Linked DNA regions of Homo sapiens: region 1 is linked to region 2. The links are contacts of gene promoters, found by promoter capture Hi-C in human tissues and cell types (Jung and others, 2019). All regions are on one chromosome and are shown on one strand. The core of a region is centred on a gene start or on the middle of the fragment in contact, and the rest is flanking DNA. Distances in the headings are between cores, read along the strand shown. Region 1 has its middle 20 kb from the start of MDGA1. Region 2 holds the start of DNAH8 (dynein axonemal heavy chain 8).

Region 1 (3,625 bases), core at 280-2,779, 1.0 Mb before region 2:
AAAGAGGCCTGTACAGGCCCTGGAAGTGGGTATGGGGCCATTTGGACAGGAAATCTGGGATCCTGGTTCTCAAAGCACGATGTAGAAGTAGAGGTGTGGGCTCCGGGTAGGCATGTCCCTTGGTCCTGCAGATTCCTGACCCTGACGGGAGGAGTGTGGCTGGAGGAGGACCACAGTAGGACTCTATAAATGCATGGGCCAAAGCAGGGACTCCTCTTGCCCAGGTCTAAGGGGTGGTACTCCCTAGAACTTCTGCCATCACAGCCTCTGGAAGTTGGGTGCCTCTGCTGCTACACTCACCAAAATAGAGGCCATGCTTCTTCAGAGACTTCTCTGGATACATTTATTTGGGGCAGCCTAAGTTACATACCTGGTATAAGGGAGCCCAGGAAAGCGAGCTTCTGGCTGCTACTTAGGGGAGAGGCAGACACATAAGATATGGAGGTTCCAGATAAAGAAAGAAGGCTTAAAAGCCCCAGGCAGCCAAGAAGAATGACAAATGTCTAGTACAGTCCACCTCTTGGCTGCCCAACATCAATATATACCCTTCTTCCTTCTCAGACTTACCCACCACGATGACCACCATGAAAACCTAACATGATGTAATTACTCTTCACAATGAAAACTTACCCTTTTCCCCAAAGGGGGACAACCCATGTTCATATCAGTAAATACACCAGGATAACCAGGGAGGTCCATTCTCCTTCTAATTCTGTCATGATTCCATTTCAAAATTCTATAATCTATGCCATAAATTGCAAATATAACTATCAAAAATATCCTTATATAAAAATAATGGGGAATGAAGATGGGAGAAATAAGGAAGTTTGGTTAAAAGAGATAAATATATCCGTAAGAAAAGCAAGGAGTACACTATGGGTGGATACTATAATTCTTGTTTCTGCAACTGATCACAGGCTATAGTTGGTATTTGTCATTTCATCCCATGTCCCACTTGTCTTCATGAGTACCTCAGCTGATCAGAGGTCTTTATCTGGTGGGGTCATCTTAACCTTCTTTCTGGAGAAGGCTGAGCCTTTGATGGTGTTGCCTGTTTGGGGTTGGTATGGTCTTCCATTAACTTTTTCTTTTGAGACAGGAGTTTTGCTCTTGTTGCCGAGGCTGGAGTGCAATGGCACAGTCTCAGCTCACTGCAACCTCTGCCTTCCGGGTTCAAGCAATTCTCCTACTTCAGCCTCCCAAGTAGCTGGGATTACAGGCATGTGCCACCATGCCCGGCTAATTTTTTGTATTTTTAGTAGAGATGGGGTTTCTCCATGTTGGTCAGGCTGGTCTTGAGCTCCTGACCTCAGGTCTTGACTAACTTCTTGACTGCCTTGGCCTCCCAAAGTGCTGGGATTACAGGCATGAGCCACTGCACCCAGCCTCCATTAACTTTTACCACCTGACCTAGAACTACTTGTCCTACAAGTCCTATTCTTTCTTGCCCCCATTTTTTCTCATTCATAATTAGGGTTAGTCATCCCAACCGACACTATGATCTCCCTTTTTGCATGACAAACTAAAAGGGCCTGGTGACAATCTCACCTTCCAGTTCAATGGAACCATTATTGTCTTCCTGTGGAAGCATTCCTACCTTGGATATTAGTCTTGTAAACCATGAAAGCTTGGAGTCATGTGGATGGGAAGGAGAAGACTTGCAAATGGGTCTTTAAGTAAAAGAGTGAGAGAGATCTGGGCTGGAGACAAGAATTTGGATTTCATCGGTGCATTGAAACCAAGATCATGGATGCAGTGCCCCAGAGAACATGAAGATGAAGACAAGAAGAGAGCTAGAGACAGTCCCTGGGGAACATTGCCTTGTAAGAGTCCACCTGGGGAGGTGGTACCCTGGGGAACCAGTGAATTGGGGTGGTTTTTCTACCAGAGCCCAACTCTCTCTTTAGTGACCTCTCCAACCCTGGGCAGCAGCATCCCATCCTGTCTAGAACAGGCATGTCAAGAGTTCACACTCTTTGGATGAAGAACACCTCCCTTCAGTCATGCTATAGACCGCGTGTTACAATGCAGCATTTCTGAGGAAAATCCCCAGAAAAGTTAGTCAAGCAATCTGAAAAATGGGAAAAAGTATTATAATTCTTTTGTGAGAATTAGAGCTTCATAATCAACATAGAGATGTTATTTGTTCAAAGGAATCAACTGATGTCAAGTTGAAAGCAAGAGCCAGAAACCCTGATACATGGAGTTGAAGGTTAAGGTCAACATCTCTGGGAGCTAGGACAGGAGTTCATAGGCAAGAATGTCACCATCTAATCAGTCAGTCTTCCTGACTGGGAGCTGTTGCCCTCATATCAGTGCATGTTTGTGGCCCTGTCTGCTGCCAATGGTGAGTCATTCTTACAAATAAAATAAATATTAATAAGTTATAAGCGCAGTATACTTAATACCAATCCTGTGAGCAATGTTTCAAGAAATAAGTTTTGGAAGCAAAATAAGCCCTTAAGTTGGCAATTGTAATACATGTAGTACTTACTGTTAACCTTGCTAGGAGATCTGAATATTACATTCTTCAAATACTGTGCAGTCACGGTCACTGCCCTTTTCCAGCATTTGAATATTTGCTATGGCAGAAATGCAAAGAGAAGAAGATAGGAATGTGGTAGAATTCTCAGACACAAAATCGGAAACTGATCTAAAGTCTGAACGAATAAAAGCAATATCTATTTCAGTGACAAAAAGAAAATCAGGGAAAGCAAAGTACTTTCATTGTTAAAAGATAAATAAATGAGCTTATTTGAAGCATATAACATATAGCATGCTCTAACACCCAAATTGAAGATGCGTTTAGACACATGCTTAATGATTCAACCCATATCAACACACAATATTTTTTTCTATATCTGGGATATTTGTTACAAAACAAAGATCAAGAGTGTCAGGCTAAAATCTTAGCTGGGTATGGTGGCCCACGCCTGCAGTCCCAGCTACTCAGGAGGCTGAGGCAAGAGGATCACTTGAGCCAGGGAATTCGAGACGGCAGTGAGCTATGATTGTGCCACTGCACCCCAGCCTGGGCAACAAAGTGAGACCTTGTCTCTAAAAATAAAATAAAATAAAAACTTTTTAAAAAGGCTGTTAGGTTAATTATTGCTTTGTGTGTTTTAAACTTTTCATTTTTAGGCTGGGTGAGGTGGCTCATGCCCGTAATCCCAGCACTTTGGGAAGCCGAGGGAGGAAGGTTGCTTGAGTTCAGGAGTTTGAGACCAGCCTGGGCAACATGGTGAAACCCCGTCTCTAGAAAACATACAAAAATTAGCTGGGCATGATCGTGCATACCGGTAGTCCCAGCTACTGGGGAGGGTGAGGTGGGAGGATGGCTTGAGCCCAGGATGGGGAGGTTGCAGTAAGCAGAGATCATGCCACCACACTCCCTCTGGGTGACAGAGAGAGATCCTGTCTCAAAAAAAAAAAGTAAAATATAATTTTCATTTAAGATGAAAAAATTTTAATATTAAATATTTGTGTTAGCTTTCAATTTTTTAATGATTTTTATTTGGCATTAATTTTGTGTTAATGTTCCCTTATTTTAATGTTTTCGCTTATGAATTATCTACATCAGGTAGGGAGCAAATTTGCATGTTATTAAAATATATAATCTTGTCAA
Region 2 (3,381 bases), core at 1-2,500:
AGTTAGAGGGTAGGTAGGTCTTGCATTTCGGCACAGTCAGCAAGGATATTCAGGAACTCCCTTGCTCCCATAAGCTTATATTGTATAATCACTGAGTAATGTCTATTAATATGGATGGACCATGGTTTATTTAATTTGTGATTTTTTATATTCATTCTTGTTTTTTTTTTCAGTTGACAGACCTTTCAGTCCTCATTCCACATTGATCTGCTCTACATTCAAAGACTGACTTTCACACCTGTAAGACAAAATAGTTTATGTAAGAAGCTATATTTGCTCATTCTGCTTGCCAGCAGAATGTCAGAGAATTCTTTGGCAGCTACATTTCACAAATCCCCTAACTCAGTGACTAAGTGCAGCCCCTGGAAGAATGCCCCTGAAGATGATAACATCTCTTGCATGAATCTTTTCTTGCAAAAGTTCCAGGATCCTAACTCATGCCTCTTCCTGTACATAATAAGATAATAGCTGATAGGATTAATGATTATGCCTCTACAATCTATAACCAGATGTACCCTTGAACCCCACCCTTGATGAGATTTTGCTCTAATGTAACTGCTGAGCTCATTTGATGTAACTGCTGAGCACATCTGATGCCACTTCCCATCACATGCCACCACCTGTACCTAAGCTTTGGAGCAGTCTCACAGAAAGTCTCTGAAAGACTCTCCGGATTGCAATCCTTAGTAAGACATCTGAATAAAACTAATATTAATTATTTAAATGACTGATTTTTTTTTCTTTGGTTAACACACCCAACTAAAAACGGACCGCTCACATCATGTCAGGCAGTCACAGCAAAAGCAGAACCGTACTAGAGAGGGGAGGGGGTGGACTTGGGAGAGAAGTCAGTTTTCCCCCAGAATCTTTCTCTCTCATCAGTCACAGGTTTCTGAACACACTGACTCACCAGGAAACACTTTTTAGGTTCTCAAGGAAAACACTAAGTAACTTCAGAAACTGTAAAGGTCATAGAAAACATTATTTTATATATTTCCGTATTACCACGTATACGCGGGAATCCTCCCAAGCCCCTGGCACCGCACTCCAAATGTCCATCTCCAGGAACCCGCCCTTCAGTGCCTGGGGTCCCCTAAACAATGTTTCAGTCCTCGGGCTCGGTGGGTGCATCCTTTATTGGGGAGCGCGGGGGCTGCCCGTGCCCCTCCAGTCGCTCCCCGTAGGGAGCTGCGCACTGCGGAGCCCTCGCCCCCGAGCGAGCCTGTCTCGGACTCCCAACCGTCAGCCTCGTTCCGGGCCGCGGAGGCCGGAGCAGCTCCCCCGGGGCAGCGCAACCGCTGGGGCCGGCCTCAGTGGGCTGAGTGGTCGGGGCATCGGGGCCCAGAGAGCGGCTGGTGAGTACTTGGTCGGAGCGCGCTGTGAGCGCCCGGCCCCTGTCCGGGAGGCCCTGATGCAGCCGGGTTCCCCGCCCACTTTCCTTCTTTTTAGGGGACTGGAATCCACGCTACAGTTCAGTCCTCCACCTCTGTTAGTTGAACCCAGGGAACCCCTGCTTCAAAACCCCAGCTGAGTCACTACCCTTTGTCAGTCTCTACACTGGACATCTAAGTGACTTCACACCCACTCCCCGTTTTGAGACTAGAAAACCAAATACCGCACGTTCTCACCTATGAGTAGGAGCTAAGCTATTGCTACGCAAAGGCATCCAGAGGGGTATAGTGGACTTCGGAGACTCAGAAGGGGAAGGGTGGGAGGGGGGTGAGGGATGAAACAACTACATATCGCTTGCAATGTATGCTACCTGGATGACCCTGAAGTCTCAGACTTCACCACTATCCAATGCATCCATGTAAAAAAACCACCTGTACCCGAAAAGCTATTAAAATAAATAAATAAATAAATAAATATATATATATATATATATATATATATATATATATTTTTTTTTTTTTTTTGAGACGGAGTCTCACTCTGCCGCCCAGGCTGGAGTGCAGTGGTGCGATCTCGGCTCACTGCAATTTCTGCCTCCCTGGTTCAAGCCATTCTCCTGCCTCAGCCTCCCGAGTAGCTGGGGCTACAGGCACCCGCCATCACGCCCGGCTAATTTTTTTTGGTATTTTCAGTGGAGACGGGGTTTCACAGTGTTAGCCAAGATGGTCTCGATCTCCTGACCTTGTGATCCGCCCACCTCGGCCTCCCAAAGTGCTGGGATTACAGGCATGAGCCACCACGCCCGGCCATATACCTATATATTTTTAAAAATTCAAAAATAAAACAAAAAAAATGCCTCTCCCTCCGGCTTATTTCCCGTTCCTCTACCCTTCTCATTCCCCTCTAGCCCAAAAGTCTCATCACTGAATTTACCACTTTTCCCAAGATAGTTGTGCCTCTTTTTGCTTCTCTGCTTTTGTACGCCACTGTTCCCACCTTCTGCCTATAATGTTTCTCTCTCCCATCCTCTCCTGACAACTCTTCTTTAGACCCGACTCGGGTGGTACCTTCTCCGTCAAGTTTTCTTTCTTTCTTTTTTTGTTTTTCAGAAGTTTTGCTGCCTGCTAAGCTCTCTTAGCCCTTCGTTAATTCACCTGTCATTGACATTGACCATCTTGTGTTGTATTCAATAGTCTGTCACACCAATTTGATTGTGCATTTTGCTTTGGAGAAGTCCTTAGTCTTTTATGTAGCCACAGTGGCCAGACATGCAGAAGACGTTCAATATTGCTGAATGAACTAATGCATTTGGGATAGGGTTACAGAAATGGGTGCAAGAGAAAAGGGTGTGGTTGAATTGGCTGTACCCAGCACACAGGTATGCAACTTGCTCACTTACTGTAGTATTCCTAGGAGGGGAGGAGTTCAACACCTGGAAATGCTCCTGAAAATAACCAGGATGCATTTCTTGTTGACTTTGCAGAAGTTCACTGAATCCTTAAAATTTAACTTAAGAAGGGATGGTGGGAATTGAAAATGATTGCATCCAGCCTGGGCAGCATAGTGAGATCCCATCTCTACAGAAAAACCAAAACCCAAACCAAAAAAGAACAGCCAAGTGTGATTGTGTACGCCTTTAGTCCTAGCTACTTGGGAGGCTGAGGTAGGAGGATCGCTTGAGCCCAGGAGGTGAGGACTGCAATGAGCTGTGCTCACATGACTGTACTCCAGCCTGCACAACAGAGCAAGTTGTCTGTGAAGGAGAGAAGGACCCAGAGAAAGTGAACAAGTGTTGATGCCACATTCACTCTGTGTGCTTTGCATCAGCAGAATGTGAATGCTTGGGGGTAGATTCGTAGGGAATTTCAGGTCTTATTTATTTATTTTTTAAGATAGGTTCTCACTCTGTCACCCAGACTGGAGTGCAGTGGCGCCATCTTGGCTCACTGCAGCCTTGACCTCCTGGGCTCAAGCTATCTTCCCTCCTCA

Evidence for each region. The method cuts DNA at HindIII sites, captures the fragments that hold promoters and counts their contacts. A contact is called where the count stands out against the background at its distance.
Region 1: a fragment that was not itself captured here is called in contact with the fragment with the promoter of DNAH8 in region 2 in 1 of the 25 tissues and cell types used here (dorsolateral prefrontal cortex).

The regions. Positions count from the first base shown.
Region 1 is chr6:37,715,637-37,719,261 of GRCh38, forward strand. No RefSeq gene overlaps it. Among named protein-coding and RNA genes, the nearest start is that of MDGA1, 20 kb to the left of the region's middle. The HindIII fragment of the contact is 4,655 bases long and covers 1-3,625 here.
Region 2 is chr6:38,714,061-38,717,441 of GRCh38, forward strand. DNAH8 (dynein axonemal heavy chain 8) reads left to right here and starts at 1,251. Exons shown (of 93, transcript NM_001206927.2): 1 at 1,251-1,355. DNAH8-DT (DNAH8 divergent transcript) reads right to left here and starts at 1,155. Exons shown (of 2, transcript NR_186581.1): 1 at 1,006-1,155; 2 at 110-238. RefSeq lists a silencer at 1,238-1,287. The HindIII fragment of the contact is 5,796 bases long and covers 353-3,381 here.